Regions from separate parts of the Homo sapiens genome. Here all the other regions are linked to region 1. Evidence: promoter capture Hi-C in 16 types of primary human blood cells and fetal thymus (Javierre and others, 2016). All regions are on one chromosome and are shown on one strand. Each heading gives the region's core, a stretch centred on a gene start or on the middle of the fragment in contact. The rest is flanking DNA. Distances are from core to core; before and after follow the strand shown. Region 1 holds the start of ARF5 (ARF GTPase 5). Region 2 has its middle 59 kb from the start of MIR593. Region 3 has its middle 29 kb from the start of MIR593.

Evidence for each region. Contacts are between HindIII fragments. The CHiCAGO score rates a contact against its expected background, and 5 or more counts as called.
Region 2: a fragment that was not itself captured here is called in contact with the fragment with the promoter of ARF5 in region 1 in 3 of 17 cell types (M2 macrophages, non-activated CD4 T cells and fetal thymus); the score reaches 5.9 in M2 macrophages.
Region 3: a contact is called between a fragment that was not itself captured here and the fragment with the promoter of ARF5 in region 1, in 2 of 17 cell types (neutrophils and M0 macrophages). The highest score is 5.4, in neutrophils.

Annotation. Positions count from the first base shown.
Region 1 is chr7:127,586,784-127,590,684 of GRCh38, reverse strand. It overlaps ARF5 (ARF GTPase 5), which reads right to left and starts at 2,274. Exons shown (of 6, transcript NM_001662.4): 1 at 2,120-2,274; 2 at 1,522-1,602; 3 at 1,091-1,200; 4 at 548-619. The coding sequence starts at 2,186. LOC105375490 (a long non-coding RNA gene) reads left to right here and starts at 839. Exons shown (of 5, transcript XR_007060511.1): 1 at 839-929. It overlaps LOC105375489 (a long non-coding RNA gene), which reads left to right. Exons shown (of 3, transcript XR_007060513.1): 3 at 734-816. RefSeq lists enhancers at 948-1,573, 1,574-2,200, 2,201-2,826, 2,827-3,453 and a silencer at 1,948-2,437. The HindIII fragment of the contact is 7,240 bases long and covers 1-3,901 here.
Region 2 is chr7:128,139,053-128,142,953 of GRCh38, reverse strand. No RefSeq gene overlaps it. Among named protein-coding and RNA genes, the nearest start is that of MIR593, 59 kb to the right of the region's middle. The HindIII fragment of the contact is 3,424 bases long and covers 469-3,892 here.
Region 3 is chr7:128,108,875-128,112,775 of GRCh38, reverse strand. No RefSeq gene overlaps it. Among named protein-coding and RNA genes, the nearest start is that of MIR593, 29 kb to the right of the region's middle. The HindIII fragment of the contact is 9,648 bases long and covers 1-3,901 here.

The DNA of each region.
Region 1 (3,901 bases), core at 1,025-3,524:
GTCCCATCTCTCCCACAACTTCTCAGACTCAGATGTAAAGACATGAGAATGCGGCCGGGCGCAGTGGCTCACTCCTGTAATCCCAGCACTTTGGGAGACCAAGACGGGTGGATCACCTGAGGTTGGGGGTTCAAGACCAGCCTGGCCAACATGGTGAAACCCCGTCTCTACTAAAAATACAAAAATTAACTGGGCATGGCAGCGGGCGCCTGTAATCCCAGCTACTTGGGAGGCTGAGGCAGGAGAATTGCTTGAACCCGGGAGACGGAGGTTGCAGTGAGCCGAGATTGCACCATTGCACTCCAGCCTGGGCAACAACAGCAAAACTCCCATTTCAAAAAAAAAAAAAGACAAGACAATGCACAGAAAAAGTGAAAAAGTCACTCCCATCCAAAACAGGGTGAGATACACAATGTGTCTGTCCACAAAGAAAAACTTATATTCCTGGTCTTCAATGCCTGTTGGGGGCTCCCTGACTTCTATACCACTACAGAGATCACTCTGTCCCCAAGCTGAGGGCTCAGTTCCCAGGGCTCTGGGTACTCACCATCTTCTGGAGTTCATCAGCAGATTCTTGGACCCGCTCCCGGTCATTACTGTCCACCACAAAGATGAGGCCCTGGGCAGGAAGGAAGGAAGAAAGGAGAAGCAATCACTTCTGCCTGGGACATACCGTAGTGTGGCCCTTTCTGTTTTCTTCCCATTTGTAATTGTGTCAATCCTTCTCATCTAGTAAACTCTACAGAAGTTTACAGAACTCTATAGAAGCTCTACAGGAGTCATGGCACAAACTAGAGACCCCACTGCAAAGAGGAAGTAGTTTATCCAAAGATGTGCAAGGAAATAAAGACATGTTATGAGGGCTAAATCAGGCAGCCTGGTCCCAGAATCCTGCTTCTAAAGAGAAGTCCAAGCTGGGGAAGACTAAGGTGAGTTCTGAAGAGTGAGTAGGGGATAGCCAAACAGAAGGGGTAGAAGTGGGGAAGGGTTTTTTCCTTGGCCTGGGGGCCCAGCCTAGGCCAACAATTCTGTTCTCCCAGCCCTAACACCTTTTCCCGTGGGGTTAGAAAGTCCCCTCCCAACACTCCACCTGAGTGTTCTGGAAGTAGTGCCGCCACAGAGGCCGAATCTTGTCCTGGCCTCCCACGTCCCAGACTGTGAAACAGATGTTCTTATATTCCACTGTTTCTACATTGAAGCCTGCAGATAATTGGAAAAAAAAGATGAGAAAACTCCTGAAAGAAAGGAACTCACTAAAACTACTTAGATTTCAGCAGGGACACAAAACCAGAAGGCAATGATCAAGGCCCAGGGGAACAGAACCCCAGAACTGGCGGTCAACAGGGCGGGGCTAGGTCACATCCACCCTGCCTCCGGTATCCACGTAGAGATACCCTGACCCACTTCTCAAATAGCTGTATCTGGTGTCAGGGTCAGCTCCAGAAAAGTGGCAGAACTGGGAGCAGACCCCGCGAGGGCCCGCCGCGGCGCTCCCGCTCCCTGCTTCGTCCCCGGGCTCACCTATGGTTGGGATGGTGGTGACAATCTCCCCCAACTTCAGTTTGTACAGGATTGTGGTCTTGCCAGCCGCATCCAAGCCAACTGCAACGGAAAGGGGCACAGGGATGGAGATGGGAGCGAGGGAGCCCCCTAGAGACCAGGGAAAGGGAGAGGCCACAACAGCTGATGGTGACTGGGGCGGAGAGCGGGAGCGCCTCCAGGTGCGCGTCGTTATCTACCTTTGAGGCCTGGAGGGCAGTCGGGTGGCGTGAGCCAACTCCAAAGAGGGCGCGGAGCGGGAGAGGACTGGGAGGCAAGGGGCACGGGAGGTAGGCCGCGCTCGTTTTAAAAGTCGTCTCCAAGGGCGGAATCCTCCCTTCTTACCAGCCGGGCTGGGGCGGAGGGAGCTTCACCCCACCCAGGCCCGCAGCTCCGGGTGTCAGGCCCCGGGGTCGGCGATGCAGACCGGGACCCGCCCGAGAGCAGAGGCCCCGGGGCGTTATGAGGTGGGTGACTCGGGGCCAGAGACCCAGGTGAGCGGGGCTGGAGGGACGCGGGGGCGGAAGGGCTGCGCCGGGGCCGGCGCCCCGGTCCGGGCCGCGCGCTCGATCTGCCTCACCCATGAGAATCCGCATCTGCTTCTTCCCGAAGATCCGCGAAAAGAGCGCGGACACGGTGAGGCCCATGGCGGGGCCCGGGGAGGGGCGCGGGCACCGACGCGGGGTGCGGGCTGGAACTGGCCGGCCGCGGGGGGATGGGGCGCAGCAGCAGCAGGAGGAGGCTCCGCCGCCGCCTCCGCGCGTCGCTGCCCTCCCGACGTCACCGCGGGCCCGCCCCCGTCCGGGCCCCGCCCCCGGCTCTCGGCCCCGCCTCCCCCGGCTCTGGCTCCTAGGGGAGCTGAAGCTCCGCGAGTTGCCGCTGCTGGCCTGGGTCCCGTGCGGCCCTTACTTGGGAACGGGTCTAGGTCTCTAACGCGCCTGCCAGGCCTGTGGCCGCCGAACCGGCAGCCCGAGCGCGGCTGAGGAAAGGATTCATCGCTCCGCAGCGGCCCCTGCCCCCATTTTCAGTGGCCGGCCGCTGGGCTTTGGTTTGTTGCGTCCAGGCCCCTAGGGGCTCCGGTTTTAGCCCTTGGGAACCAGTAGCACTGAACGTGTGCACCACTCTCCTTTGGGGAGTGGAAGCTGCGATTAGGGGTCTTGGTCCTCCCTTTACTGCCTCATCTTCCACCGAGGGACTTGCGCGTAGTAGGTGGTCGTGTGAAGAGTGCGCGGGAGGTAGGGGAAGGTGCCCGAGTGCTAGCTAGCTTCCATGGTTCCTCAAAACGCCTACTTCCTAATTCCCAATCCGCAGAACCAGTGTAAGATTCCCGGCCTTGGGCGGCGGGGTCACAGACCCACTCCTGGGCTGTTGGAGAAGTCCACCTTCGTTTGGATCGCCCTGCGGGCCCCGCCTCTCAGTCCAGGCGCTGGCCGCTTTGCCGAAGTTCCTCACTTTGCCACAGACTTGTGGACCTGGCTTATTCTTGCACATCCATTCAGGATTTTGTGAAGATCTTGACTCCGTAGACCCAAAGAGCTTCACATGTCATTTCCCTGCCTCATTTTAACATCTGAGAGGAGAATAGCAAAATAGGAATGAAATTCTTCTGCGGTGGAGACTGGCTCATTGCCAGGCATTATTAGGCCTAACAAATGCTTGTTCAGTTGAACTGGACTGATAGATTCTCAATGGAGCGAGGGTAGGTGTTATGTCTACTCTGGATTCCCAGTGGGCTTCTAGGATCAATTGTTTATGGACTCGAGGTAAACTGAGCTGGGAATAAAAAAACCTTCACTCATTCATTTGCTTTTTCAGCAGATATTTACTGAGCACCCACCACTTGCCAGCACGTGATTTCAGGCTTTAGTTCAAATCTTAATTCTGCCATTTCTTGAGGATTTGGCTTCAGCACTCCTCATAACTCTTCCGTTATTTCATCATCTATAAAATGAGACTTGTTCTAACTTAAGGGGTTATGGTGAATCTTAAAATGATTTGATAATGTGACTGAATGTTATGTATAATACAGCTTGATGTTATTTGGGCCACTGAGAAACGGGGTCTGAACAGACCTCCAGGGCCTGCCCCATCCTGATCTGCAAAGTCTGTAACAAGGACAGACTTTGGGAAACAGGTATGAGTGAGTGAATGACTTTCCTTTTCTCTTCAGTCATAGACTTGCATCCCTAAGAAGGCTTTTACGAGGCTGAAGAGTACATTTTAGAGAGTTCCAATATAATAACAGAACTAGTGTTCACCAAGTTAGGTCAATTCTACATTTAGCTCTTTTATCAGCCTCTTTGCTTCCATCTCTGTTGTCACTACCTTCTGTTCCCCATGACTGAAAGTCTCCTCACAGGTT
Region 2 (3,901 bases), core at 931-3,430, 550 kb before region 1:
TTCCTCTCCCCTAGAGAAAAAGCAGCATTAGGAGGTGAAACTTAGATTATAATTTACCAGCCTTAGGAGGTTGTAGAATAAGGGGGAAGAAAGATACTACCCAAGGATGGTTATTCCCTATATATTTTTCTCGGCTCCTCACAAGTATGGGGCTTCTAATTTTACTCTCAATGACCCCTGGACCAAAGGTCTGAGTCACAGCAGCTGTGCACAGAGCAGGTACTAAGCTCCCAAAGTAACAGCAGAGAACAACTCCAAGAAGCAAGAGAACAACTCCAACAGTTCTCAGGGGATCCTTAGAGCTTTCTTGGTTTCTCTAGCATTGATCTCTAGAGAAGGAGCCAGAAGTTATGCTAGTCCAGCTTCCTGGTAAGAAACAGACTGCATCCTGTTCTCATTTCATGCATGCAAAATGTCTCTTTTTGCCTTTGAAGATATGTATGATAGCTCTTTTTATTTCTTAAAGCTTTCTTTTATAGTCTGTTTCTGCCAGCTTGTTCTTTATTGGCCCCTATTTTTCAGGTTAGAGGCTTTCTTCAGATGTTGATAATCCTTGGTTGTCTGCTTATGACCAAGAGCGAGAAGCCACAATGCTGTTTGAAAGCTCTGAGCCCATGGGAGGGGTGGGAGGTGGGGTGGGAATGTCAACTCTGAGCTTCTTTGCCGAGCCATCCGGATGGATGGTTTGGTGGAGCCCAGTGTTAGTACTTTTAGGTCTTTCTTTTTGGGAACCTAATAGCAAAGAACGCCAGACAGTTTCAGCGTTCGTGAAGCATATATTAATAATTCTCTCTTTCTTGGATACAGTCTCCATAACTGGATTTCTCAGTCCAGAAAAATACTTCCCCCAGCTTCTGCCAGGGTGGGAGAGGGCATTGCTTTGCAGTGTAAAACTAGGAGAGTGCTGAGATCCTGGGTCTAACTGCTTCCTAAACAGCTTTCAATCAGTTATCCCTATTTATCCCCATCCATCACACCCCATCCCAGCAGTGGCAGAGGCTGTGAGGATGCCGCTGGGTCAGGTGGTGTCCTACTTAACCACTGTCAGCTTGGGATATGGCATTCTTGGACCTGCTAAGTCAGCAACTTCTTTCCCATCTGCTTCCCAGTTTCTAAAATGTTATTGCTCGTAACTTCTCTCCTGTTTTTCTTGTCCTTGTAGAGTTATGTCTATATTTTAAAATCCCTTTGCTGTAATTTTAGTGGAATATCAGGAGGAAAAAAAATTAGATTCATGCGTTCAATTTGCCGTCTTTGCCTGAAAGCCTACATTTTTTATGTAGGAAATTCATTACATCTGCAACTAACAACAGTGTTTTCTTTCTTTCTATTCTTACATCTTTTCTTGCTCTTTTTCCTTTTTGTCATTTTGCATAGGCTCTCACATGCAATTCTGAGTAGAAGTGCTAGCAGGAATTTTTGTCTTGGTTCTGATTTCTGTAGGAATGATTCCAAAGGGACTCCTATGCTGTGTTTGCCACTAGTTTTTTGATAGATCCTTTTTGCCAGTTTCATTACACAAGTTTATGTTTTGATTATAAGCAACAGAAAATAGCACAAAAGAGCAGTTTAAACAAGTTAGAAGTTTATTTATTTATAGATATGGGGTCTTGCCATGCTGCCCAGGCTGGGATGCACTAGCTATTTGCAGGCACAATCACTGCGTACTACAGCCTTGAGCTCCTGGGCTCAAGTGATCATCTTGCCTCAGCCTCAGTTGCTGAGTAGCTGGGACTACAGGTGTGCACTACCACAATGGGCTGAAGTTTATTTCTATCAGCAGTCCCAAGCTGGAGTGCAAGTTCCTAAATCCTTAGAGACTTGGGCTCTCTCCATTCTTTCTCCTCTGTCTTCAATATGAGGCTCACATCTCATGGTCCAAAATGGCTGCTCTAACATTAGCCAGCAAGTCTGCATTCCAGGATGCAGGAATGAGAAAAAGGAAAGGGAAGGGCATCCCCCTGCCATCCCCCTAAGGACTTTATAATGGGACTTCATAGAAGTTTTACACATCATTTCTTTTTTTTTTTTCTTTTTTTGAGACGGAGTCTCGCTCTGTTGCCCAGGCTGGAGTCTCCTGCCTCAGCCTCCTAAGTAGCTGGGACTACAGGCGCCCGCTACCACGCCCAGCTAATTTTTTGTATTTTTAGTAGAGACGGGGTTTCACCATGTTAGCCAGGATGGTCTTGATCTCCTGACCTCATGATCTGCCTGCCTCGGCCTCCCAAAGTGCTGGGATTACAGGCATGAGCCACTGTGCCAGGGCTCATCATTTCTATTTACATCCCACTGGCCAGAACAGATTCATGGGAGCCCACCTAGCTGCAAGGGAGTCTGGGGAAGGTAGTTTTTAATTTTAGACTGTTATGTGCTTGGCTAATTTGATGAGTTTCTAGTTTTACCTTTATCCATAGTAATACTAATACTCCTCTTCATTCTTAATATAACTTATGACTTTTATTCCTCAACCTGATTTTATGTTGTTAATCTTTTCTATTGTTTTCTATTTCACTAATCTCTACTCTACGTCTTTATTATTTCCTTCCATTTATTTTTTAATTGTTGGTTTTTTCCAGCTCTTTGCAGTGAATGCTTAACTCAATTGTTATTATTTTGTTTTGTTCCTTAATAAATTTATTTAAGATGATAAATTTATCATCATGCACTGCTTTAACTGCATTCCATAAGTTTTGATATGTAAAACTCTCACTGTTACTCAGTTATAAATACTTTGTACATCTCATTTGATTTTTTTTCAAACTGTAAATTAAGTTTCTCAAAATGTGAAAATGGTATTTGTATTAGTCTGTTCCCATGCTGCTATAAAGATACCACCTGAGACTGGGTAATTTATAAAGAAAGGAGGTTTAATTGACTCACAGTTCCACATTGCTGAGGATGCCTCAGGAAACTTACAATCATGAGGGTAGGCAAAGGAGAAGCAAGTACCTTCTTCAGAAGGTGGTAGAAGAGAGGGAGAAGGGAAAGGAAAGAGGGAGGGAGGGAGGCAGGGAGGGAGAGAAAGAAAGAGAAGAGGGGGAACTGCCAAACACTTTTAAAGCATCAGATCTTGTGTGCACTCACTATCAGGAGAACAGCATGGGGGAAACCGCCCCCATGATCCAGTCACCTCCCACCAGGTTGCTCCCTCCACACCTGGGGATTACAAGTCGAGATGAGATTTGAGTGGGGACACAGAGCCAAATCATATCAGTATTTGTTTGTTTGGTTTATTTTTACTACATTTAAAATCATTTAAAAATGTAATTGGCTGGGTCAGTGGCTCACACATATTATCTCAACACTTTGGGAGGCTGAGGCAGGCAGGTGGCTTGAGTTTAGGAGTTCAACATGGTGAACTGGGCAACATGGTGAGACTCTGTCTCTACAAAAAAATTTTTTTTTTATATTAGCCATCATGGTGGTGCACACCTGTAGTCCTAGCTATTCAGGAGGTTGAGGTGGGAGGATCGCTTGAATCTGGGAGGCCAAGGCTGCAGTGAGCCATGATCATGCCACTGTACTCCAACATGGGCGACAGAAAGAGACATTGTCTCAAAAACAATAACAACAACAACAACAAAAAGCCCAACTTTGTCTGATATTAGCATTGCTATATTAACTTCCTTTGTTTTGTATTTTTTATGATATATCTTTTCCATGTCTTTAATTTCAATTATATTTCATGGTTTTGTTTTAAGCATGTTACTTATAAGCAGTATATAGATGCTTTTTAAAAAAATTCAATCTAGTGAATTTAATCAGTTTTCATTTAATTTGATTACTGATTATTTGGACTCATTTCTACCACCTTATTTTGTCATATATGTTTACGTCCTTTTTCTTTGCTTCTTTTTTCTTCTTTCTCACCTTCCGTTGGATTGATCAAGCTTTCTGCATT
Region 3 (3,901 bases), core at 842-3,341, 520 kb before region 1:
TGGTTTATCTTCCAGGTAGCCACCTCAGCAGCCGCCCGCCGCAGCAGCAGGCCCCAGGCAGGTTGCTGTGTGTCTATTATTTTTGATTGCCCGTCTTATGGGGCATGAAATCACTTCTGGGAGGGTGTGAGCTTGGCACTGCCCTCGCTGCCGCTGGAGAGGGAGCAGGAGGCAAGGTCTCCTGAGGGTGCAGCTGAGGGTGTGGTTACAGCCAGGGGTCCCGGGGCCGTGGGCACTCCTACACTGCTGTGGGCCACGCCTTCTGGCTCTGAAGGGGCTGAGTGAAAGGAAGCACCCGAGGGAGGCGGTAGGAAGGCTTCAGCTGGGAGGCAGGGCATCGACTTCCAGCACCGTCTCTGCCCTGGCTGGTGCTGCTGTGCGCCCAGCCTTCCATGCCCAGGGAGTGCTGATGTAGTTTGGTGCCTCAGTTTCTCTTTTCTGCAAAATCAGCAGGGCCATGTTCTCTTTATGGGAAAGCTCTAGGGAAGAATTGCTTACCTCTTCTAATTTTTGGTGGCTTGTGGTGTTTCTTGGCTGGGGTTGCATAACTCTAAATCTCTGCGGCTCTGCCTGCCTTCCTCAGACAGTCTTCTCCCCTGTGTCTCACGTCGCCCTTTCCTTTCCCCTGTAAGGACAGCAGTCGCTGAATTTAGGGCCCACCCTGGATCTCATCTTGAAATTCTTATGACTGTGGTCTGAATGTTTTCTATACAATTCATACATTGAAACTGGATCCTTCGTGTGACAGTGTTAGAAGGTGGGGCCTTTGGGAGATGATGAGTTCGTGAGGGCTCTGTCCTCATGGCATTAATGCTCTTATAAAAGGGACCCCAGACGCCAGGTGCATAGACTTATGCCTGTAATTCCAGCACTTTGGGAGGCCAAGGCAGGCAGATCACCTGAGGTCAAGAGTTCAAGACCAGCCTGGCCAACATGGCAAAACTCTGTCTTCACTAAAAAAATACAAAAATTATCCAGGCATGGTGGTGCATGCCTGTAGCCTCAGCTACTCGGGAGACTAGAGGCAGCTACTTGGGAGACTTCGGAGGCAGAATTGCTTGAACCTGGGAGGCAGAGGTTGCAGTGAGCCAAGACTGGGCCACTCCAGCCTGGGCAACACAATGAGACACTGACTCAGAAAAAAAAAAAGGAACCCCCAGGGAGCTAACTATCCCATTCTACCATGTAAAGACACAGCACAACAGTGCCATCTGTGAAGTAGAGAGCAAATCCAAATCCACACCAGACACTGAACCTGCCAGCACCTTGATCTTGGACTTCCCAGCCTCCAGAACTATGAGCAATACATTCTGTTGTTTATAAGCCACCCAGTTTGTGATATTTTTTTCTTTTAGCAGCTTGAATGGACTAAGACAAGTACTATCTTAATTATATTTGCAAAGACCCTATTTCCAAGTAAGGTCACATGCACAGGTACTAGGGGTCTGGACTTGGACATATCTTTTGGGGGAACACTATTCAGTTCACTACAGCCAGGTGCTTGTGCAGATGCTCCTTAGTTCTGTCCCCTACCTGCAGTGTGACAAGGTCAGAGGGCACTGCAGTTGGAGGGCATGAGGCCTACAGAGGAAGCTGTTTGCCAGAGAGCTGCTTCTGTGCTGGGCTGCCCACTTCCCTCCTACACCTGGTGCAAATGAGAAGTTCAGCCAGCATCTGAGCCCTCAGCTCAGAGTCAAGGTTTACACCCAGTTCTTCTCCTTCCTTCTGCAGGAAAGAGCCAGACAATAAGAAAAAATAGGAAGAAAGGAGGTTGAATGAAAGAAATCTGAGCCTTTCAGAATGTGCACCACCTGGGCAGAGAAGAAGAAACAGAGGTGACAAGTGGGAAGACCTCCGGGCCTGAAATTCCCTGTCATGCTGCAGCTCCGGACCTGCCCCTACCTGAGTGGGGAGCAGAGGGGTGGACTGACACCTCAGACCCCTGGGCAGCTCTTGGCAAACTCACATGCTTGTCTTCAGCAATCCTGGCTTCATTTGGGGCTCTTTTCAAACCCAGGGCCTTCCCTGGGGAACCCAGGCCCCTAGCATCCTACCCACCTTCAGTAGTTGCCACACACACACACACACACACACACACACATTCTCTCTTTCTGTCTCTTCTCAGACATGTGTCTCATTCCCTTAGGCCTTCTTTTCTCAGCTTTTCAGGTGATAGGGAGCTAATCCTACCAACAAATTCAAACCAACTTGAGAGCTAATGGCTGAAACTGTTAATGATCGCTAACAAAATGAGTCCTAGGGGCGGGGTGGGGTGTGTGTGTGTGTATTTTGCATTTCTGTGCAGAAGTGTTGCAGGAACTCAGGGACCCCGAATGGAATGACTGGCTGGAGCCGTGGCAGAGGAACATAAATTGTGAAGATTTCATGGACATTTATCAGTTCCCAAATAATGCTTTTATAATTTCTTATGCCTGTCTTTACTTTAATCTCTTAATCCTGTTACTTTCATAGGCTGAGTATGTACGTCACCTCAGGACCACTGTGATAATTGTGTTAATTGTACAAATTGATTGTAAAACATGTGTGTTTGAACAATATGAAATCAGTGCACCTTGAAAATGAACAGAATAACAGCGATTTTAGGGAACAAGGGAAGACATCCATAAGGTCTGACTGCCTGAGGGGTAGGGCAAAAAGAGCCATATTTTTCTTCTTGCAGAGAGCCTATAAATGGACATGCAAGTAGGGAAGATATCACTAAATTCTTTTCCTAGCAAGGAATATTAATATTAATACCCTGGGGAAGGAATGCATTCCTGGGGGGAGTCTATAAACAGCCGCTCTGGGGACGTCTATCCTATGTGGTTGAGATAAGGACTGAGATATGCCCTGGTCTCCTGCAGTACCCTCAGGCTTACTAGGGTGGGGAAAAACCGGGCCCTGGTAAATCTGTGGTCAGACCAGCTCTCTGCTCTCGAACCCTGTTTTCTGTTGTTTAAGATGTTTATCAAGACAATATGTGCACTGCTGAAGACAGACCCTTATCAGTGGTTCTCCTTTTTGCCCTTTGAAGCATGTGATCTACTCCCTGTTCTTAGACACCCTCCCCTTTTGAAACCCTTAATAAAAAACTTGCTGGTTTGAGGTTCAGGTGGGCATCACGGTCCTACCGATATGTGATGTCGCCCCCGGCGGCCCAGCTGCAAAATTCCTCTCTTTGTACTCTCTCCTTATTTCTCAGCTGGCTGACACTTATGGAAAATAGAAAGAGCCTACGTTGAAATACTGGGGGCGGGTTCCCCCGATACAGAAGAGGCTTTAGCTCAAAGAAAGGAACCCCTGATGCTGGCAGCGAGACATATTTTTGGATTGAGGGGCTTTGTCAGAGCTCTGGATGTGTCGCGTATGTTGACCACATATACACAGCTGCTGCTGGGTCACCTCCAAGTGGCCCAGGCTGCCCTTTGCCCTACACTTGTTGGGACACAGGCCTTTGTCAACCCACCTGGGAACAGGTCTTGGTGGATCAGCGTCTCAGACAGGTCTAGCTAGGTCACATTGACATGCCTCGGGATCTATTTATTACCGTTTCCTCCTGTTTGCAAGATGAAACAACTCAGTAACACGCCTACCCAAGGTCACACACAGTACAGCTTCTTTGATGGAAGCCCAGGTGTGTTCTGTCTCTTGAGTCTAGGCTCTCTTCTTTTTATTTAGGGGGCTGTTTATCCTTTTTCAATGCCATTCCTCTCCTCTCCCTCTCCTTTCAAAAGCCAACCATTCTAAAGTGTTTTGGTTTGTAAGAGTGCAAAATGGTGTGTGTGTGTGTGCATGCGTATGCGTTTGTTGCCTGTGAGTGCTATTTTTAACCTATTTGAGTGGTTCAGAATTACAAATCTCACTTCTGTCTTCCTCTTTCTACTCAGCTCTGCTTTGAACT